Linked DNA regions of Homo sapiens: all the other regions are linked to region 3. The links are contacts of gene promoters, found by promoter capture Hi-C in blood cells and fetal thymus (Javierre and others, 2016). All regions are on one chromosome and are shown on one strand. Each heading gives the region's core, a stretch centred on a gene start or on the middle of the fragment in contact. The rest is flanking DNA. Distances are from core to core; before and after follow the strand shown.

Region 1 (3,798 bases), core at 253-2,752, 420 kb before region 3:
CATGAGCCACCGCGCCCAGCCCACAAATTTCAAATTCAGCCTACTTGGGATTTGGTCCACTGAAACATATCCAGTTTTATAATGGAAAGGGGGAGGGTAGAAATCATTTTAAAGAAATTTGCTTAGCATCTGAATTTACAAGACTCTTAAGAACAGAAACGTATCCCAACCCTCAAAGACTTCAACTTTCGCCTTTAAACCTTATTTTTAACCATAGTATTTTTCAGCTGGAAAAACAAATCCTCCCAAACTACTTGGAAAAAAAAAAGGGGGAAACACGGGGGACCTGTCCTTAATGAGTGAAAATTGCAATATTAAATACTAGACACTTTTAAATTAATTTGCCTAAATATATTGTGACTTTTCAAACAAGTGAAGAACTACATACAGTAAACTATGTTCCATCACTACATTTTCCCATTTACAAGATAATAAATTTTCAAAATCATATGTTGAAATAATCTTTATGGTTAAAACTGTAACCGGTTAAGGTGAAATTTTAAAATAAAGAAACACTCATAAATAACAGTTGAGATCACCAGAACAGCTAAAAGCTAACATCTTGGGAACAGTTTTTAATAAAAATACATTATTTCAATTATTGTTTTAAATCTTAGAGAACAAATTTCCTAATTAAATTGGGCTTTATCAACAATAGAACAGGTGTACACTATTTTACCCAAAAAGTGTTTCTGTGAAAAAGTACTGGCATAACAAATCTAAGTCACTAGAAAAATTGAATTCTCCTTTTAGAGGTACTTACTCTCCTTTCAGTTAAAGCTTCCACTGGCAAACTGTAGTTAGCTTTCAGCTGGTTAATTATCCACAAACAAGCCCTTAAAAACAATCACTTCAACATATTAGATGGCTACCACTTTGCCACATTAGATGGCTAAGAAAGAAAGAGAAGAGAAGGAAGGAAAGAAAGAAAACAAGTGTTTAGAAGGATGTGGAGAAATAGGAACCCTTGTGCACTGTTGGTGGGAATGTAAACTGGTGCAACTGCTATAGAAAACAATATGGTGGTTCCTTGAAAATTAAAAAGGGTTACCATATGATCCAGCATCCCTCTTCTGGATATGTATCCAAAAAAAGTGAAAGCTTCAAAGAGAGATTTGCAGACTCATGTTCAGAGCAGCACAATAACCAAGATGTGGAAGCAACCCAAGTGTCCGTTGCTGGATGAATGGAGAAACAAAATATGGAACATATAATGGAATATTGCTCAGACTCAAAAAGGAAGGAAATTCTGACACATGCTACAACATGGATGAACCTTGAGGACATTACACAAAGTGAAATAAGCCCATCACAAAAATATTAAAACCCTATAATTCTATTTATATGAGGCATCTAGAGTAGTTAAATTTGCAGAAACAGAAAGTAAAATGGTGGTTGCCAGAGGCTGAGGAGAGGGGGAAATTGGGAGTTGTTTAATGGGTAAGATTTCAGCTTTGCAAGATGAAAAAGTTCTGGAAGTTAGTGGCACAATGTGAATATACTTAACACTACTGAACAGTACTTAGAAATGGTTAAGATGGTAAATTTTAGGTTAATGTTTTTGAACTACGATTTTAAAAAACAATCAAAAGCTATAAGAAAAAAGCCATGAGGTAATCACATTTTTGTTTTTATGAAACAAAAATTTTAAATTTTGTTTTAAAAATTCAGGTTTTAGATACTAGATTTCTCTAAAGGGATCATGTCTGGCAAATAAATAAGGGTTTATAAATTTCTACTGCAGAAAACATGAACATTAATACTCAACGCATATACAAAACAGTTAATTCTTGATGTGTCAAGAGACCAAGAGATATAATTATTTTTAAAATTCCAAAGCCTATAGTTAATTTAAACAATCTGACCATATTTTTACCAAAAATACTGAGCAACAAGAAGCTTGGCTTGTCTTAGTTTCAAATTCTCTTTCTAACCTTCCAGAGTTAAGCAGAAAACACATACACACACTGGGTAAAATCCACCCACTGGATAACTAGTCACAAAGTTTAAAAAATCAATTTCTTGATTGGAAACTCATCCAACATCACATTTAAATTTAGATTTTTTTATCCTGGTTAAGAAACAGACTTATGTTAATCTTAGATAAAGGGATACAGTATTTTAAGTATCTAAATTTAAAAAATTATATACTAAGAGAAGGCATCTATGAACACACAATTTAACCCAAATCTTTAACATCCATGCACATCAATTTTTATTTCACCACCAAACATAATAAACTGAGTTCTTCAGAAAAAAAAAAAAAATCAGTCAAGAGACTAAATAATCCCCCTCAGCTTTCTATACACCACTCTTGACATACAAGAATAGAATGTAACCACAAAATCTAAACCCTGAGCCGTGACACCATTAGAGTCACAGACAATGGCGTTAAAAGTAAAGACAATGGAAGTTAACAGGTAGAAAAGTTGACATTCTCCAAACTGCACAAGGTGCTCTGCAGTGGACCGTAGGAATGAACTCCAATACTTTCTCAGTCTAAAATAACTCGATAGTTCAGTAAATACACACGTGTGGAAGAGTGCATAGACTTCATACAAATTGAGCCACAAAACAGACCAGTAAGACAAGCTTGAAGTCTTGCCTTCAGATGGAACCCAATGGTCTTAACTCTGGAGAAACTCATAAGCAAAGGACAGTTTTTCTACCACGTAGCTGCTTTACTGAGAATATTTTATCAACTCATTATCTTTTACAAAGGTTAATTTTTATAAAATTGTCTAAACTTTGGCATCAAGACGAAAAATGTTTTAACTTACTGCCAGTACTAAGAATGCAGTGTCTTGCACATATCTTGCTTAAATGAACAGTAAGACTAGAATACTGTGTATGTTTGACTCTAGAGTCCAGAGTAAACTCAGTATTCTATTTGGGGAGAAAACACAGGGGTGAGCAATTGTGAAGCAGGAGGCCTCCACTAGAGTAGAGAGCAGATCAGATGCTCAAGAAAAATAACTGATACTAGGTGCCAATATAACCCAAGGATGTACTCTTTTGCCCATTGTAACAGGAAAAAAACGCTTTTCAAGCTCTGGATCCAATGTTAGTCTTTTCACTTTCAGGAGATAGAAAAGATGCATGAAGACACAGAAAAGAAACTAAAGGAAACAGCTGGAAGGACTAGCAAAAAAGAGTTTTAAGAGTTGTGGAAGTTTAAACAAGAATTTTAACAGGTAACATCTATTTTCAAGTACACAGTGTCATCAAGACTCCTGCAATGGGCTAAGTGCTTCACAAGCATTATCTCATTTAACCTTTACAATAACTGCTCAGATGGCTGCTATTCTTATCATCATTTCAAAAGGAGGAAAGAGGCTCAGAGGCATTCAGTAACTTGCTCAAGCTCACAAGTGAAGGGCTGGGACCCTTAACTCAGAGGTATCTGCCTCTAGATCCTATGCTCTTAACCACCATATGCTGCTTCCTCAAACAAAAGGACAATCAAAATAGAATCATAAGGAGAAAAGTTTGCTAATAAATGAGAGAGCTTCTTGACTTTTAATGGCCAAAGTTAATGAAGGAAATTAAGGAATATCTATTCTCAGAAATTTTACTTTAATGATTCAGTAATTATTTGTTTTGGAAAACTCTGAAGGAGTCTGGCCTGAAGCCTGAAACAGAATCATTACTCTCTTGACATTCCCTTAAAAATCTAAAAATCAAAATGCACGTGCTATTAAATAAGTTCAGCCCCTATAACTAGGAACAACATGAAATGTCCTGCGTTAAATCTACAGTATCATAACCATACCCATTTTCTATTCTGATTTCTTCCAA
Region 2 (3,653 bases), core at 217-2,716, 490 kb before region 3:
ACTAAAAAAATACAAAAAATTAGCTGGGCATGGTGGCAGGCGCCTGTGGTCCCATCTACTCAGCAGGCCGAGGCAGGAGAATGGCATGAACCCAGGAAGCAGAGCTTGCAGTGAGCCAAGATCGCACTCCAGCCTGGGCGACAGAGGGAGACTCCATCTCAAAAAAAAAAAAAAAAAAAAAAACTAAGGAAATACCACCTTCTCTGCAGGGTTACTATGATAATTAGTGAGATAACATACATAAAACATCTAGCATAGTTCCAGGTATATGGTGAGTACTCAGCACACGATGTCCATTATTATAACTGTATAAATGAAGAAACAGAAATGAAATAATTTGCTCAAGGTCCTACTTACATAGCAGCGGGCTAGAATTAGAAGTCAAATGTTTTGATTCAGTATCCTGTTCTCTTTTCATTTTATTATGCCTCTTAACCACAAAACTAGAACAAGTGGCAGAATCATGACCAGAATTCAGATCTTCTGAAATGAAGACTTAATAGCAGTTGCAGGCAGTAGAAGGAAAATTTAAAAGTATTAAATTTAAGAATTATCAGTGAGAATGGATTACAGGCTATGCTAGGACAAAAGATATAGAGCCAGCAGAAGTATCAAGGGACAAGGCTCTCAAAGCAATTATGTCACAAGCCAGAGATCCGACAGAGCCAGGATAACTTCACAGACTATTCCATTCCTAAAAGCTTCCAGGTATAGGCATTTCATAGCTTGACCCTTCTGATACTCTTCTCTATTCACTCTAAAAGAGTAGACCTTTGTTCATCAACCCCAACTTAAAAGAGCTTAGAATGAAAAAGCATGTTGAAAAAGATATGTTGAAAAAATATTTACATTCTACCACCAAATTGGTCAACAGTCAGAAAAATTAAAACCGGACAACCATGGTGGCTCATGCCTATAATCCCAGCACTGTGGGAGGCCAAGGTAGGAAGATCACCCAAGCTCAGGAGTTCAAGACCTGCCTGGGCAACATAGCAAGACCTTGTCTCTACAAGAAATGTTTTAAAATTAGCCAGCATGGGCCAGGCGTAGTGATTCACGCCTATAATCCCAGCACTTTGGGAGGCCAAGGTGGGTGGATCACAAGGTCAGGAGTTCAAGACCAGCCTGGCCAAGATGCCGAAACCCTGCCTCTGCTAAAAATACAAAGATTAGCCCAGCGTGGTGGCACGTGCCTGTAATCCCAGGTATTCAGGAGGCTAAGGCAGGAGAATCGCTTGAACCCGGGTGGCAGTTGCAGTGAGCCAAGATCATACCACTGCACTCCAGCCTGGGACACAGAGCAAGACACCGTCTCGGAAAAAAAAATTAGCCAGCATGGTGGTGAGGGCCTAGCTACTCAGGAGGCTGAGGTGGGAGGATCACTTAAGCCCAGGAGACTGAGGGTGCAGTGAGCTACGATCACCCTACTGCGCTCCAGCCACGGTGATGAAGCAAGATCCTGTCTCAAAAATTAAAAAAAAAGAAATTGTAACCAACTGGGTTCAGATCATCTTTTTTCATTAGAATATTGATAAGAATAATGTCTTGCTGTTTGAAAATGTCCTATGCCTCTCTCTTCATGATTCACATCAGCATTTCTCAACTTTCTGGTATCCCGAAATCTTTCTTCCATTCTCCACAACCGCTATTCCAAACATTTTCAACTCTCAGTTCCCTGATCCCCATGATGCTCTCTTAAAGTTCAGGCAATCAGGTCTGTTTGCCTTCTATTTCTCCTCTACACAAAGATTTATAAAAATCCATTCTCACCTTCTTTCCTCAAGTTTCAAAGGAAAAAGTATGCCTTCTGCTCAAGGCTACTCCCTCCATGGACTCTCAATCGCAGACACACCCACCTCCTCCATAGCAGGAACCTTGCTCGCTACCTCTCCTATATACAACCATTCCCTCTAACTAGCTCCTTACCTCAACTCCAAACATAAACATTATGTCTCTCCAATCTCTAAAACTTTACGACTCCCCTCTGCCAAAAAGACAAAATACAAATTCCTTCTATTACACAAAGTACTTTTATCTTATTTAGTTTTCTACATAAACTCTCTCCTACCTCTTTCTCACTAAGCTGCTAGAGGGAAAAAAAAATCCTAGTTCTTGTTACACTTCATTTGTTTGTTGAATGACAAATTTCTAACCCCAGTCCCACCTCAGACCAGTCCTTTGCTGTCCAACAAACAGGCACCACAGCCATACAAAACTGAGTATGAAGCTTAGCTCCATTACTTCCTAACCTAGTCTCTGTAACTCAGTTTCCTCAACTTTAAATCACGGATAAAAACCCCTATTTTTAAAAATAATAATTAAAAATGTTTAAAAACACTTATTTTGCAGAAATGTTGTAGAAGTAAAACAATCTACACAAAATATTTTCCCAGAGTTCCTGCATTATACTATGTCTTCAGATATTGAGGAATATTCAGTTCCTTGTAATACAGTAATTCTTAACCTTTTTGGGGGACATGAACACCTTTGAGAATCTGAGGATAATTACAGTACCTCACCCTAAAAATGTATCCATATGAGCTGGGTGGGGTGGCTCATGTCTGTAATTGCAGTACTTTGGGAGGCTGAGGCGGGCGGATCGCCTGAGCTCAGGAGTTTGAGACCACCCTGGGCAACATGGTGAAACCCCATCTCTACTAAAATACAAAAAATTAGCCGAGTGTGGTGGTGCGTACCTGTAGTCCCAGCTACTCGAGAGGCTGAGGCATGAGTATCACTTGAGCCCTGGAGGCAGAGGTTGCAGGTTGCAGTGAGCCAAAATTGCGCCACTGCACTCCAACTTGGGCTACAGAGTGAGAGAATCTATCTCAAAAAAAAAGGATCCATATGTATGACATCAATTTTTCATACAATGTGGTGGGGGAGAGGGACATGGACCATCTCCAGGCCAGAGATTAAGGATCCTTGCTCAAAAATAAAGTTACTTTACAGAACAGACCCAGAGTGCTCCCAAAAATCAATTTGCTACCTGAATTACAAACAACCTGACAGGCTGATGTTATTGCAACGTGGGGGCGACCGGGCACAGTGGCTCACACCTGTAAACTCACCACTTTAGGAGGCCAATGCAGGCAGATCGCTTGAGGCCAGGAGTTCAAGACCAACCTGGTCAACACAGTGAAACCTCACCTCTATTAAAAATAGAAAAAATTAGTTGGGCATGGTGGTGCACAACTGTAATCCCAGCTACTCAGTGGGTTGAGACACAAGAATCACTTGAAACTAGGAGGCAGAGGTTGCTGCAAGCCAAGATCGTGCCACTACATTCCAGCCTGGGTGACAGAGGAAGATCCTGTGTCAGGGACAAGAAAAAAAAAAAAAAAAAGAACATGGGGGCATCTAAACAAACATTTGAGTAAATCTAAGATCTGATCCCTGTCTTTCAATTGTAATACAAGAAAAGACTGAGTAGGGCTGGAGAAAAAGGGAATTAACATTTATTAAGGGTATATACTGTGTGTAATATACCACACTCAGCACTATTTAGGCATCACCTCATTTCAATTTGCAGAACAACCGAATGAAATAAAATATTATAATCCTAATAGTAATGAGGGAGACATTTAGGCTTAAAGAAAATTTAAAAGCACGACCAAAGTGTCCCCTTACCCTCTCGTCTCCTCTCTATATGT
Region 3 (3,820 bases), core at 1,268-3,767:
TTTTTATTTTATTTTTATTTTTTGAGACAGGGTCTTGTTCTGTTGTCCAGGCTGGAGTACAGTGGCGCAATCATAACTCCCTGGTTAAAGCTATCCTCCCACCTCAGCCTCTTGAGTAGCTGGGACCTCAGGCACATGCCACCACACCCAGATAATTTGTTTTTATTTTTTGTAGAAACAAGATCTCGTTATATTGCCCAGGCTAGTCTCAAACTGCTGGGCTCAAGTGATCCTCCTGCCTTGGCCTCCCGAAGTGCTTGAATTATAGGCATGAGCCACCATGCCCAGCAAGACCTCATCTCCAAAAAATAAAAATAAAAATAAAAAAAGAGTGTCTTCCTATCTTGCTATCTGCTTCCCTTTCCCTGCACCTGATGGTAACCTCATTCCTGCCACACAAACCACCCAAAGTGTTCCCACAAAAGTCAAACCCCATAATTCCTTTTCATTTATCTCACTTGAACCCTCAGCTGTGTTTAACTCTGCTGACCATTCCTTGTCTTGAAATATTCTCTTTTGACTTTGAAAATCTGTCACCTTAATTAGTGGAATGAATAAACTAGTACCTTTAGGCCATCCAGGAATAGGAGAAAAGGAGGAAAGGCTCTGAGCTCAAGAATGGGGCTTGCCCTTTTAGGGGTGTGGTGGTGATCTACTAGAAAAAAGACTTAAGATTTACCAGATAGGCTTGGTGTGATGGCTCACACCTATAATCCCAACAATTTGGGAGGCTGAGGCAGAAGGATCTCTTGGGCTCAAGAGTTTGAGACAAGCCTGGACAACTGAGGGAGACACCTCTCTCTCAAAAAAAAAAAAATCTACAAAAGTTGTGAAAACTGAATTCCTTCCTAGAGACGAGTTTTGTGGACTAGTGATTCAATGAAACGGGTGGGTGGAACTCAACCATAATGATACAAAGAACTATTTATTCTTTTATTGAAAAAAAGGGTGACTGGAGACTGGATCACACTGTGGGAACTTGCTGAGAATTTTGGAACTTCCTCTCTTTGGGTATGATAAGAAGTGAGGGAATTGAAATTCAAGTCACTTGAATTTCCCTCAGTCTTCTATAATACCTGGTTTCCAACTTGCATTCATTTAACAAACTGGAATCAATGTTCCATTATTAAATCAATATTACTTTTTAATTTTAATGTGACTTGTAGAATGCAATTTGATACTTGATTACACCCTATGATTCATAGCTATTATTGGCTATTTTGATTGTTTCTTACTCCTAATATGTCCCCTATCAAACTGCAAATGCCTTGAGGTCAAAGGTCCTTTTTTGTCTAATTAGCATAGGACTGAACACTTGGAAGATGCTAACAACATTCCTCTGTTAAATTTAATAAGGATTTTAACTTTCCAAGTTCAATGGGTTTTGAATGACTCCTGAATATAATATATTATGCTAGGTGTAGTGTAATAGAGAAAACATTTGTATTACTTGCATTTTACAAGCTGGAGGAGAAGCAAGAACACAATACCTAGGGAAGATTTAGATTTAGTAAGAAATCAGAACGTCCCAATACCCCCTTGTATATGTTTTACCAACCTAGATTTAAAAAAAAAAAAAAAAAAGCCAGAATCCCAGGCAACATAGGGAGCTAATTTGAGTTCTTTTTATAATAAATCCTATAAATCCTTGTAGTTTACTTCCTTAGGCCAGACACTCCAGATGTTTTTGTGGATAGCAGCTAGGTCTCCTGGGACCTTGGATTGGGCCTTTCTCTAGTCAGGCAAATAATCTGAAAAGAAAACGAAATCACATGTAGTCCAGCACATTTTTTCCTTTCTTGGTTTCTCCACACCAGCTAAGAGTTATTTAAAGGCTCTGAACCTCTCCAGCCTTTGATTCTTTTTAAGGATGATTTTATTTTTAGAGAACTTTCCACATTTCCTAGTTATACAGCCAGACTGGGTGATCTGGCCAGAAAATCATTTTCCCTTAAAAAAAAAAAAAAAAAAAAAAAAAAAAAAAGCTAAAATTTGAACGCAGGCGTTGAATTCGAAACAGATTTATCATAACGTAATTCCCTGGACACTCCCAACTTGAGACTGAAAGCTGGGCGAAAGCGGTTTGTGAAGCTAACCTAAAAGACAAAATGGTCTAGAGCCACCTTTTCCCCGCAAATAACAGAGGATTAAGGATCTGAAATCTTCAAGCCTCCAGGACCACGGTGCAAGCCCTCAGCAAAAATTTCTGCTGGAGGCCGGAGCGCCTTTTGATTTCGGGAGACTGGCCCAGGAACTCTAGTCACTTGGAAGGCGGAAGAGAAGGTGGTACCTGAGCCAGGTAGGAGCCACTCAGAGGCAGCCCGGGGCCGCCACTCACCTAGGAGAGGAGGTGGAGTCCGATGACCTGGACTGAGAGGAAACGCGAGACTGAGTCTACCAGGTGAGGTAAAAAACACCCACCTGCTCACCTCGGAAGGGGCGGGCGAGGTGCGGCTCCCGGTGACCCGCGGGGGTGCAGCGCACCTGGGCGGAGGCGGAACTGGGAGGGTGTGGGCACTGCTCGTAGGGCCTGGAACTAAACTCACCTGTGACGGAGGCAGAGGAGGGGCCCGGGCAAAAACCCACCTGAGCTGGCGGGAAACCCGACCCGCGAGCAGTCCCCGGGCTTGCGCGGCGCGGAGAGGGAGGCGCCCCGCGGCGGGGCCCCCACTCGGTCAGCCCGCGCGTCGGTCCCCGCGCGGCCGCCATGACCTGGAGCGCCACGGCCCGGGGCGCCCACCAGCCCGACAACACCGCCTTCACTCAGCAGCGCCTCCCCGCCTGGCAGCCGCTGCTGTCGGCCAGCATCGCGCTGCCGCTCTTCTTCTGCGCGGGCCTGGCCTTCATCGGCCTGGGCCTGGGCCTCTACTACTCCTCCAACGGCATCAAGGAGCTGGAGTACGACTATACAGGCGACCCGGGCACCGGTAACTGCTCGGTGTGCGCCGCGGCTGGCCAGGGCCGGGCGCTGCCGCCCCCCTGCTCGTGCGCCTGGTACTTCTCGCTGCCCGAGCTCTTCCAGGGCCCAGTGTACCTCTACTACGAGCTGACCAACTTCTACCAGAACAACCGGCGCTACGGCGTGTCCCGCGACGACGCGCAGCTGAGCGGACTCCCCAGCGCGCTGCGCCACCCTGTCAACGAGTGCGCCCCCTACCAGCGCAGCGCGGCCGGCCTGCCCATCGCGCCCTGCGGCGCCATCGCCAACAGCCTCTTCAACGACTCCTTCTCGCTTTGGCACCAGCGCCAGCCCGGCGGGCCCTACGTCGAGGTGCCGCTCGACCGCTCCGGCATCGCCTGGTGGACCGACTACCACGTCAAGTTCCGCAACCCGCCGCTGGTCAACGGCAGCCTGGCGTTGGCCTTCCAGGGCACGGCGCCCCCGCCCAACTGGCGCCGGCCAGTCTACGAGCTCAGCCCCGACCCCAACAACACCGGCTTCATCAATCAGGACTTCGTGGTGTGGATGCGCACGGCGGCGCTGCCCACGTTCCGCAAACTGTACGCGCGCATCCGCCAGGGCAACTACTCGGCCGGGCTGCCGCGGGGCGCCTACCGCGTCAACATCACCTACAACTACCCGGTGCGCGCGTTCGGCGGCCACAAGCTCCTCATCTTCAGCAGCATCTCGTGGATGGGTGGCAAGAACCCCTTCCTGGGCATCGCCTACCTGGTCGTCGGCTCCCTCTGCATCCTCACCGGCTTTGTCATGCTGGTCGTCTACATTCGCTACCAGGACCAGGACGACGACGACGAGGAGTGATTCCGGCTTTCCAGGGATCCCTCCTGCTTCTTGCCAAAACTCTTGCAAGGTGCTTTT
Region 4 (3,746 bases), core at 227-2,726, 260 kb before region 3:
ATATGCTGGGCTAAATCTGCTTTCACAAAATAGCCAGGAAAGGTGTTTTGATCACTTCCTGAGCAAGGATTAGTACAGGATAATTCACTTTTCATGGCCGGAGTGTGGTTCTCAATTTCAAAGACACTGAAGCTAATTTAATTTCCCATATTGAAAGAAAATTGCCTTGGATAAAAAGTTTTGTTTTTGTTTTTATTTAAATCAGGTTATCTTTAAATAGACTCATGACAGTCCCCAAGCACCTCTTTCCAAATCTGATTTGTGAACAACACAAAAGTAATGCTGTGTTTATAAAAATTGTTTTGGAGCTGAATTTACAGAGAAAATCTTGTTGAAGGTGCAGACACGGAAAGACAGTGTTTGGAGGTACCTCCCACTGCCATGCCAGGTGTCCAGAGGTGTCAAGCTGCCAGTGTTGATTCAAATGAAAATGATAATGTTGAAGAAGGAGGCTGCAAAAGTTCCTAAGCAACCTGACGGGATATACCTTGTAAAATGCTTTCAAAAAAGCTTCAAAGGGCAGCTAATAAATGAATATACTGACAGGGTTTAATCGCTTCTCCTCTCTCCTAGTAACAGGAATTAAAGGCCACAGGTGGTTCTGGGTTGGAGGCAGGACCCAAAAGTAAATGCAGCATTCAGAGCTGCACAGGCCCAGTCAGAGCAGCTGCCACTTCAGGCACTTACAGTGGTCACCCAGGATTCAGGAGATGCATATTATAAGTAACTCAGTTCTGTAAGAGCTAGGAGTTAGTTCACACTGCTTGGGCTCTCACTAAGTAAGCCTGTGCAATGCAGGCAGGAAGGGAGAAAATGCTTACAAAAAAGAAATGAGTAGATTCTTGCCTTAGGAAAGTCAACGGGATACAATTCCTGATGGAAGAGCAGTTGCTATTCTAAGAGCTAATTAACAAGAAACAATGCTGCAAAAAACTTGGGAGACAGGACGGCAGAACACACCCAGATGGCCTGTGGGAAATTCCCAGGCCTGCCAATGATGTGAGAGAGGACATCTTGTGAATGGGTGGGTACAGCCTGTTCTTCTGGGCAAGACAAACAGTGCAGGACTCTATATGCCAGGGTGGCTGAAGCCCCAGTGTCCAAGAGGCTTGCCCATTCCTCCCTGCCCCTGGCACTGAACCCAAGCTTCCATGGGGCACTGTGGAAGAGGCCTTGCCTGACGACAAGTAGACCAAACACGACCGTCCGTCCTCTAAAAACTGCACCCTTGGAATTGGGGACAGGCAGAATAACCCTTTCACTAGCTTGATACTTAGCCTCTTGGGGTTCTGATAAATCCTTTTGAATAACCAAGCAGTTTTGTTTTTAATACCTTGGCCTGAGCCCTTTAGATGCAGCCATCCTCAACTTACAAAAAAAACAAACCAAAAGAAAAAACAAAACACACACACACACAAACAAACTTTGATTCAATTGACAAAGGTTTTCAAGGTGTCTACTACATGTAAGGCAGCACACTAGGGGTTTCTTGGGGATACGCAGATGACAAAGACAGTGTCTCTTCATCCAGGAGCTAATCAAGAGAAGGGGGAAGAATCAAGCAAACTTCATAATACACAGCCGGATGAAATGAAAAGAGACTTAGATCAAGTGCTGTGAGAGCTTGGAAGAGGCACGGGGCAAATAACACTGGGGCTGGTGGTGGGAAGGCAAGTGACAGCCTCGTGGAAGAGGTGGCATTTGACCAGAGATGAGGACGAACAGAATTAACATAGTAGGCATGAAGGAAGAAAATGCGCCTGAGGACACAGCCAGCACAAATGCAGAGGCATACAAGTGCCTGGTACAGCTGGCATGCAGGGATGGCTGAGGAACTGCGGGGGCAGCCGGTGGGATCCATCCGAGGTGAGTGATGAGAGCTGCACGGCAATTTAGGGGATGACACTAGCCACAGCGTGATGAATAAATCTTAAATGCAGAGGTAGCGCCTGGTGGTGAGCAGTTAGAGGCTGAGACAATAGCTGAGAACACATGACAAGTTCAGCAACTAGGAGAGTTTCTAGTTAATTGGAAGGAAGAGTTGGAAGCACATTCTAGAGGGCCGTGGAAGAATAAACACAATCCACTAACTGCCGGGAATGGGAGTGAAGAGTCCAAGATCACAGGGTCCTCCCTGGCTGCCTGATGGGGCAGTGGTGTTGAGTAACAGAAATGGAACAAAAGAGGGGCAAGAGATTATTCTTTGTAGCATGAGTATTAGTAGCAGTGTTAGTAGTAGTAGTATTTTTGTTAGTGGAACAAAGACAAAAATAGCTCACACTTACTGAGATCCTACAGTCTGCCAAATCTGGGAGGCTGATGGGCTCCGCTTTGCATTGGAGGTGTGTGGGCACCCACATGCAGATGAATTCTAGGGTAAATCTGGGGTGCAGGCCAGGGCTGGCCATCTAACGCTCAGAGACATTGAAATTTGAGTAACCACTGAAGCTGGGAGGGCAGGTTAGATTGTGGAAAGTGACAGAGACAGACTAGAACTGATACCAGCCCTAGGTCTCAGACACATTTTATTTGGCCTACCTAGTGTGTTTTGAAATAATTTTAATTACTTCTCAAATATTTAAACGCTAGGAAATGTCACATCACATGAAAAGTCAGGTTTTCCAACTTCTCGTGGAAAATGAGATACTCGGGAACACTGGGCCTGCACTCCTCTCATAGAAACGGCCTGGAGTTGAGCAGGGGCTTCTGCTTTTCATGGGGCACCAGATGCCCAGTCAGTCACATGCCCCACCACTCCCTATCACCTCCCACCTGGCTGGTATCACTCACGGACTTTCATGGCTCCTGACCCCTGGTGTAGGGTGAGAAGCAGCCAGAGTGGCAGCTGGAGGATGCCATGAAGAGGCCAGAGGAGGATGAATACCATGAAACAGAAACCAGGACCGGGAGAAGGAGGGTCCGGGGTGATACTAAGGGGGTAGAAGCTTTGTGTGTTGTGGTGGTGGTGGGGTGGCCCTTCTACCACTACCCCCGTCCAGTGATGTGGAGATGAGGAGTTAAGGGAACATTTAACATTAGTCCCAGGCCTGAAATCTTTCACAGTTCACGTTGGTGCAGATGGTGTGGAGTTGGAGGTGGATAGCTTGCCATCCTAGGCTGGGCACAGGCCTTTCCCTAAACTCTCTGTTCCTACTGCTGTGAATGGTGACAGCATAATCCTTTTGCAGAAAACTTTCATTATTTGCTTATGTCCCTAATGGGACCCAAATGCCAGTAAGTTAACAATTGTGCTCCTCGGGGCCATCACTTTCATCCACATTTAAGGTCACACTGAAAAGTTGCCTCACCTCAGCTGACTTTCTCCCTGACTGTGATCCAAGAGGGAAAGTCGGCCAAAGAGGAAAATAATGTGACTTCATGAAATATTCTGCACACATTTACTAAAGGAAGCAGAATGTTTTCTAGGGCCAAGAAAAGCACTTTATAAGCTGCACAGAGTGAGTGAGGGGACCAGGGTGGAAAATCTGGATTCTACCCCAAGTGTAAGTCTCAAACTGACTGGAGAGCAGGGGAAAGAGAAGGGTCAAGAACTCAGGGACTCATTTTATGTTCCCCTTCCTGCTGTGGCCCTCATTACAGTGGAACTGAACTAGAGGATACTCAAGGAATCAGAGGCACACCTGGCCCCGAGAATGAGACACTTAACAGTTTTTTTCCCAGACTACAGAGGAGGTGTGGCTGCAGGGGAAAGCAAGCAGGCATGCTCCCTCCTGACGCTAGTTCTA
Region 5 (3,600 bases), core at 1-2,500, 440 kb before region 3:
AGGCTGGTCTTGAACGCCTAAGCTCAAGCAATTCTCCTGCCTCAGCCTCACAAAGGGCTCAAATTACAGGCTTGAGCCATTGTGCCTGGCCAAAGTGTTCAGAATTTTATAAGCAACTTACTGTATTTTTTCTGAACCACTCAACTGATGTAAACTACCAATAAATGACTACCCAAATGAAACACTTGGTGAAAAAATTGAAAACCTTATAATATGTGCTATATATGCTTTTTTTTTTTTTTAATGGAGTTCTGCTCTTGTCACCCAGGCTGGAGTGCAATGGCAAGATCTTGGTTCACTGCAACCTCCACTTCCCAGGTTCAAGCAATTCTCCTGCCTCAGCCTCCTGAGTAGCTGGGATTACAGGCATGTGGTACCATGCCAGGCTAATTTTTGTATTTTTAGTACAGACAGGTTTCACCATGTTGGCCAGGCTTGTCTCAAACTCCAGACCTCAAGTGATCCACCCGCCTCGGCCTCCCAAAGTGCTGGGATTACAGGCGCGAGTATATGCTTTTAAAGGGTATCCAATCAAGCTAACTATGGTGATGGAATGTCTCCAGTTCCTCTGTAATACACGTATCGTCCAGAACTTCAAAGATAGCAATGACTATCTAAGGAGTGGCAATAAGTGTCTAAGACAAATCCATTAGAAATTTGAGGTTAGATAAAGCATCTAAAGGACAGTATATTTAAAAGCTAGTGTAGACTGAAAATAAGACTGAATTTTGGAAGAAAACCAGCCTTCAAGAAAACAACTAATATAGAGTTGACAAACCTATATTAGATGAAGGTGATAAAAATTATTATGTCCTTTATCACACAATGAGTCTAGACAGAAACCAATCAAGGGATCTATAATAAAGATTTAATGGAAAAATCTTCATGATATTCTTCATATGTGACTACTGGAGGTCTTATAACATTTCTAAGTAAGCTTAAAGCTTAAAGCTAAAGCTTCTGAAGTTCTTGTGAGTTTCAGCATTTAAACTGCCCGGCTTCTTGTCTAGTCACAGGAAGGCTAATTTTATCAGTTTTATACCACAGAATTACAGTACTGACCAAGAATTATTTGTTAGACCAGGGGGTCTAGGTCCCACAGAGATGAATCCTGTACTATTTGTTTTACTGCTTACATTGCACAACAGAAGATATGTAGATCAGAAAGAAGTACATTTTCCACATGCAAATAAGGTCACTATATTTCTCTAAATTTTATAAATTGCATCTGTTTTGTTTTTAAGTACAGGTCAAGTGAAGTTCTTCTGCTGATATGTTCTGCTACTGCATAAGGTACTATATTTCAGTTAAGAGTACAGTTAAAACAGTTTGTTTACCCATTTCTACAACTGTTCTAGAACTAAAGTTGGAGTATACTACTGGCAAAATAGCTCAATCTTTGTGGTATTGTAGTTTTTACATGCTTACCATTTTATTATTTAACATACAGTATTAGACACAAAAGTAACAATTATATCTTGAAATTATTTTGTATAGGAAATATATTTAGAAAAATAATTTTGAGCCCGTCTTATTAAGCTTCTTGTGTACAAAGTTCATGAATAAGCAAGAGTTGTTTTATAGAGAATGTCTATTGTTCTTCAGATTAAGAACATAAAATATTTAGTGCTTTGTAGTAGGTCAGTAAAAATTAAAAAAAAATAAAAGGACACAAAATAATTGTAGGCATTTAAAGTCATCTTTTCGTATTGCACAAAAAGCCTGTTAGCATTCCTAATTGTAAAAATATGTGACTTCAAGAACTGAAGTTAAACCATAACTATTTAAAATGTGAGCAGATTATCAGATTTACTTCTAATAAAGTTAATGTACCTCAATTATGTTATTTGGTGAAATAACTCTTTCTGGCCTTGAAGGTACAAGTTGGTTTTTGTTGTTTTTGCACTTGCGTCAGTATTTCTACAGGACTGACATTCTGAAGTGAAATTTCATGATATAAAAAATGTGCTACTGAAATTTTTTAAAATACACAATAGCTTTCCAAATGGTTCTGTGCCCATTTTTGTCTCTGCCAGTTCATGAATGTGTATATCAATTCCCCCATGCACTCTGCAATATTATATATTACGCATCTTTTTAATCTTATTAATTTCTGCTGAGCTGATAGGTGAGAATTATATCTCATCATTTTAACTGCCCTGCACTTCTTAAAGTCTCAGGCCCAAGAAAAATGCAAAGAAAAGTTCATGTTCACTCTTCAGTTGGCATTTTTGCCTGCAGTTTTATTTTCATTTTATTTTAGAGACAGAGTCTTGCTCTGTCACCCAAGCTGGAGTACAGTGGCATGATCATAAGCTCACTGCAGCCTCGAAATCGTGGGCTCAAGCAATCCTCCCCCTCCCTACCTCAGCCTCCCAAGTAGCTACAGGCACACGCTACCATGCCCAACTAATTCTGTTAAATTTTTTGCAGAGACGGAATCTATGTTGCCTCGACTGGTCCTGAACTCCTGGGCTAAAGCGATCCTTCTGCCTTGGCCTCCCAAAGTGCGAGGATTATAGGTGTGAGCCACCCAACCTGGCCTTTGCCAGTATTTTTAAATCCAAACACCTATGCATGGTGCTTACTAATAACACAGTGGTATTCTAAACATTTTTCACCTATTATTTAATCTTTATTATTATCACCATGTTACAGATAAGGACCCTGGCTAAATAGCTTACCCAACATTACTCCGTTAATAAATGGTAGAACCTGTATTTCACTCAAGCAGTCTGGTGTCCACGCGATTAACACTAGACTATGTTGTCTCTCAAAAACTCATCCTGATTACCAAGGCAAGTATTTGTAAGTCTAGGCTATTATTATAAAGTTCGAAATTTGCCTACTTCACATGCCAAAGACATAAAGAAGGAATTATAGGAGTTGGCTTCAGAATTTAGGACTTGACCTAAGCTATTCAGAGAAACTCAGAACCAGGCTCTTTCTTGGAGTTTGCTTATAAATCCAAAATCCTAACTGAAAGGCACCTACAATGGTAATAGATGCTCTCTGCTCTACTGTCCAGCAGCTCTTCAAAGCAAGGTAATCCCTTCCGGTAATGCCAATCATTATGGCGAAAGAGTCAAAAGATGGTAATTCAGTCTATACTCCCAGTAGACTTTATTTGTACAGAGCAGCTATTTCAATATCTAAGTTCAACATTGTTGGTGTTTTACTTGCTCAACATTTGTCTAGCAGTCACAGAAACTGTTTTTTTTTTTCCTGAGACGGCATTTCACCCTTGTTGCCCAGACTGGAGTGCAATGGCGCGATCTCGGCTCACTGCAACCTCTGCCTCCTGGGTTCAAGCAATTCTCCTGCCTCAGCCTCCCGAGTAGCTGGGATTACAGGCGTGTGCCACCACGCCCAGCTAATTTTTGTATTCTTAGTAGAGATGGGGTTTCATTATGTTGGCCAGGCTGGTCTGGAACTCCTGACCTCAGGTGATCTGCCCACCTTGGCCTCCCAAAGTGTTCGGATTACAGGCGTTGAGCCACTGCGCCTGGCCCTTCCTTGTTGTTTGTACTCATTTTTAAAGTTATTCTAACTTGTATTAGGCCAAATTAATGAAGAAAGGCTTAAGTTTTTAAAATATTA

Evidence for each region. Contacts are between HindIII fragments. The CHiCAGO score rates a contact against its expected background, and 5 or more counts as called.
Region 1: a contact is called between a fragment that was not itself captured here and the fragment with the promoter of TMEM30B in region 3, in 4 of 17 cell types (naive CD4 T cells, non-activated CD4 T cells, naive CD8 T cells and 1 more). The highest score is 7.1, in naive CD4 T cells.
Region 2: a fragment that was not itself captured here is called in contact with the fragment with the promoter of TMEM30B in region 3 in 7 of 17 cell types (activated CD4 T cells, total CD4 T cells, non-activated CD4 T cells and 4 more); the score reaches 11.4 in activated CD4 T cells.
Region 4: a contact is called between the fragment with the promoter of PRKCH-AS2 here and the fragment with the promoter of TMEM30B in region 3, in 6 of 17 cell types (activated CD4 T cells, total CD8 T cells, non-activated CD4 T cells and 3 more). The highest score is 12.3, in activated CD4 T cells.
Region 5: a fragment that was not itself captured here is called in contact with the fragment with the promoter of TMEM30B in region 3 in 6 of 17 cell types (total CD8 T cells, total CD4 T cells, non-activated CD4 T cells and 3 more); the score reaches 8.0 in total CD8 T cells.

Annotation. Positions count from the first base shown.
Region 1 is chr14:61,697,929-61,701,726 of GRCh38, reverse strand. The region is part of intron 1 of HIF1A (hypoxia inducible factor 1 subunit alpha); the gene reads right to left. Among named protein-coding and RNA genes, the nearest start is that of HIF1A-AS1, 4.0 kb to the right of the region's middle. The HindIII fragment of the contact is 798 bases long and covers 1,104-1,901 here.
Region 2 is chr14:61,769,928-61,773,580 of GRCh38, reverse strand. The region is part of intron 4 of SNAPC1 (small nuclear RNA activating complex polypeptide 1); the gene reads right to left. Among named protein-coding and RNA genes, the nearest start is that of SNAPC1, 9.3 kb to the right of the region's middle. The HindIII fragment of the contact is 1,526 bases long and covers 704-2,229 here.
Region 3 is chr14:61,280,035-61,283,854 of GRCh38, reverse strand. It overlaps TMEM30B (transmembrane protein 30B), which reads left to right and starts at 2,517. Exons shown (of 1, transcript NM_001017970.3): 1 at 2,517-3,820. The coding sequence starts at 2,708. The coding sequence ends at 3,763. It also overlaps a transcript of PRKCH not described here. RefSeq lists an enhancer at 3,092-3,820. The HindIII fragment of the contact is 12,699 bases long and covers 1-3,820 here.
Region 4 is chr14:61,543,214-61,546,959 of GRCh38, reverse strand. It overlaps PRKCH-AS2 (PRKCH antisense RNA 2), which reads left to right and starts at 1,476. Exons shown (of 3, transcript NR_188139.1): 1 at 1,476-1,866. All of the region lies in intron 12 of PRKCH (protein kinase C eta), which reads right to left. The HindIII fragment of the contact is 1,799 bases long and covers 1,149-2,947 here.
Region 5 is chr14:61,714,662-61,718,261 of GRCh38, reverse strand. The region is part of intron 1 of HIF1A (hypoxia inducible factor 1 subunit alpha); the gene reads right to left. It overlaps HIF1A-AS3 (HIF1A antisense RNA 3), which reads left to right. Exons shown (of 3, transcript NR_144368.1): 2 at 1,245-1,293; 3 at 2,434-2,704. Among named protein-coding and RNA genes, the nearest start is that of HIF1A-AS1, 21 kb to the right of the region's middle. The HindIII fragment of the contact is 582 bases long and covers 960-1,541 here.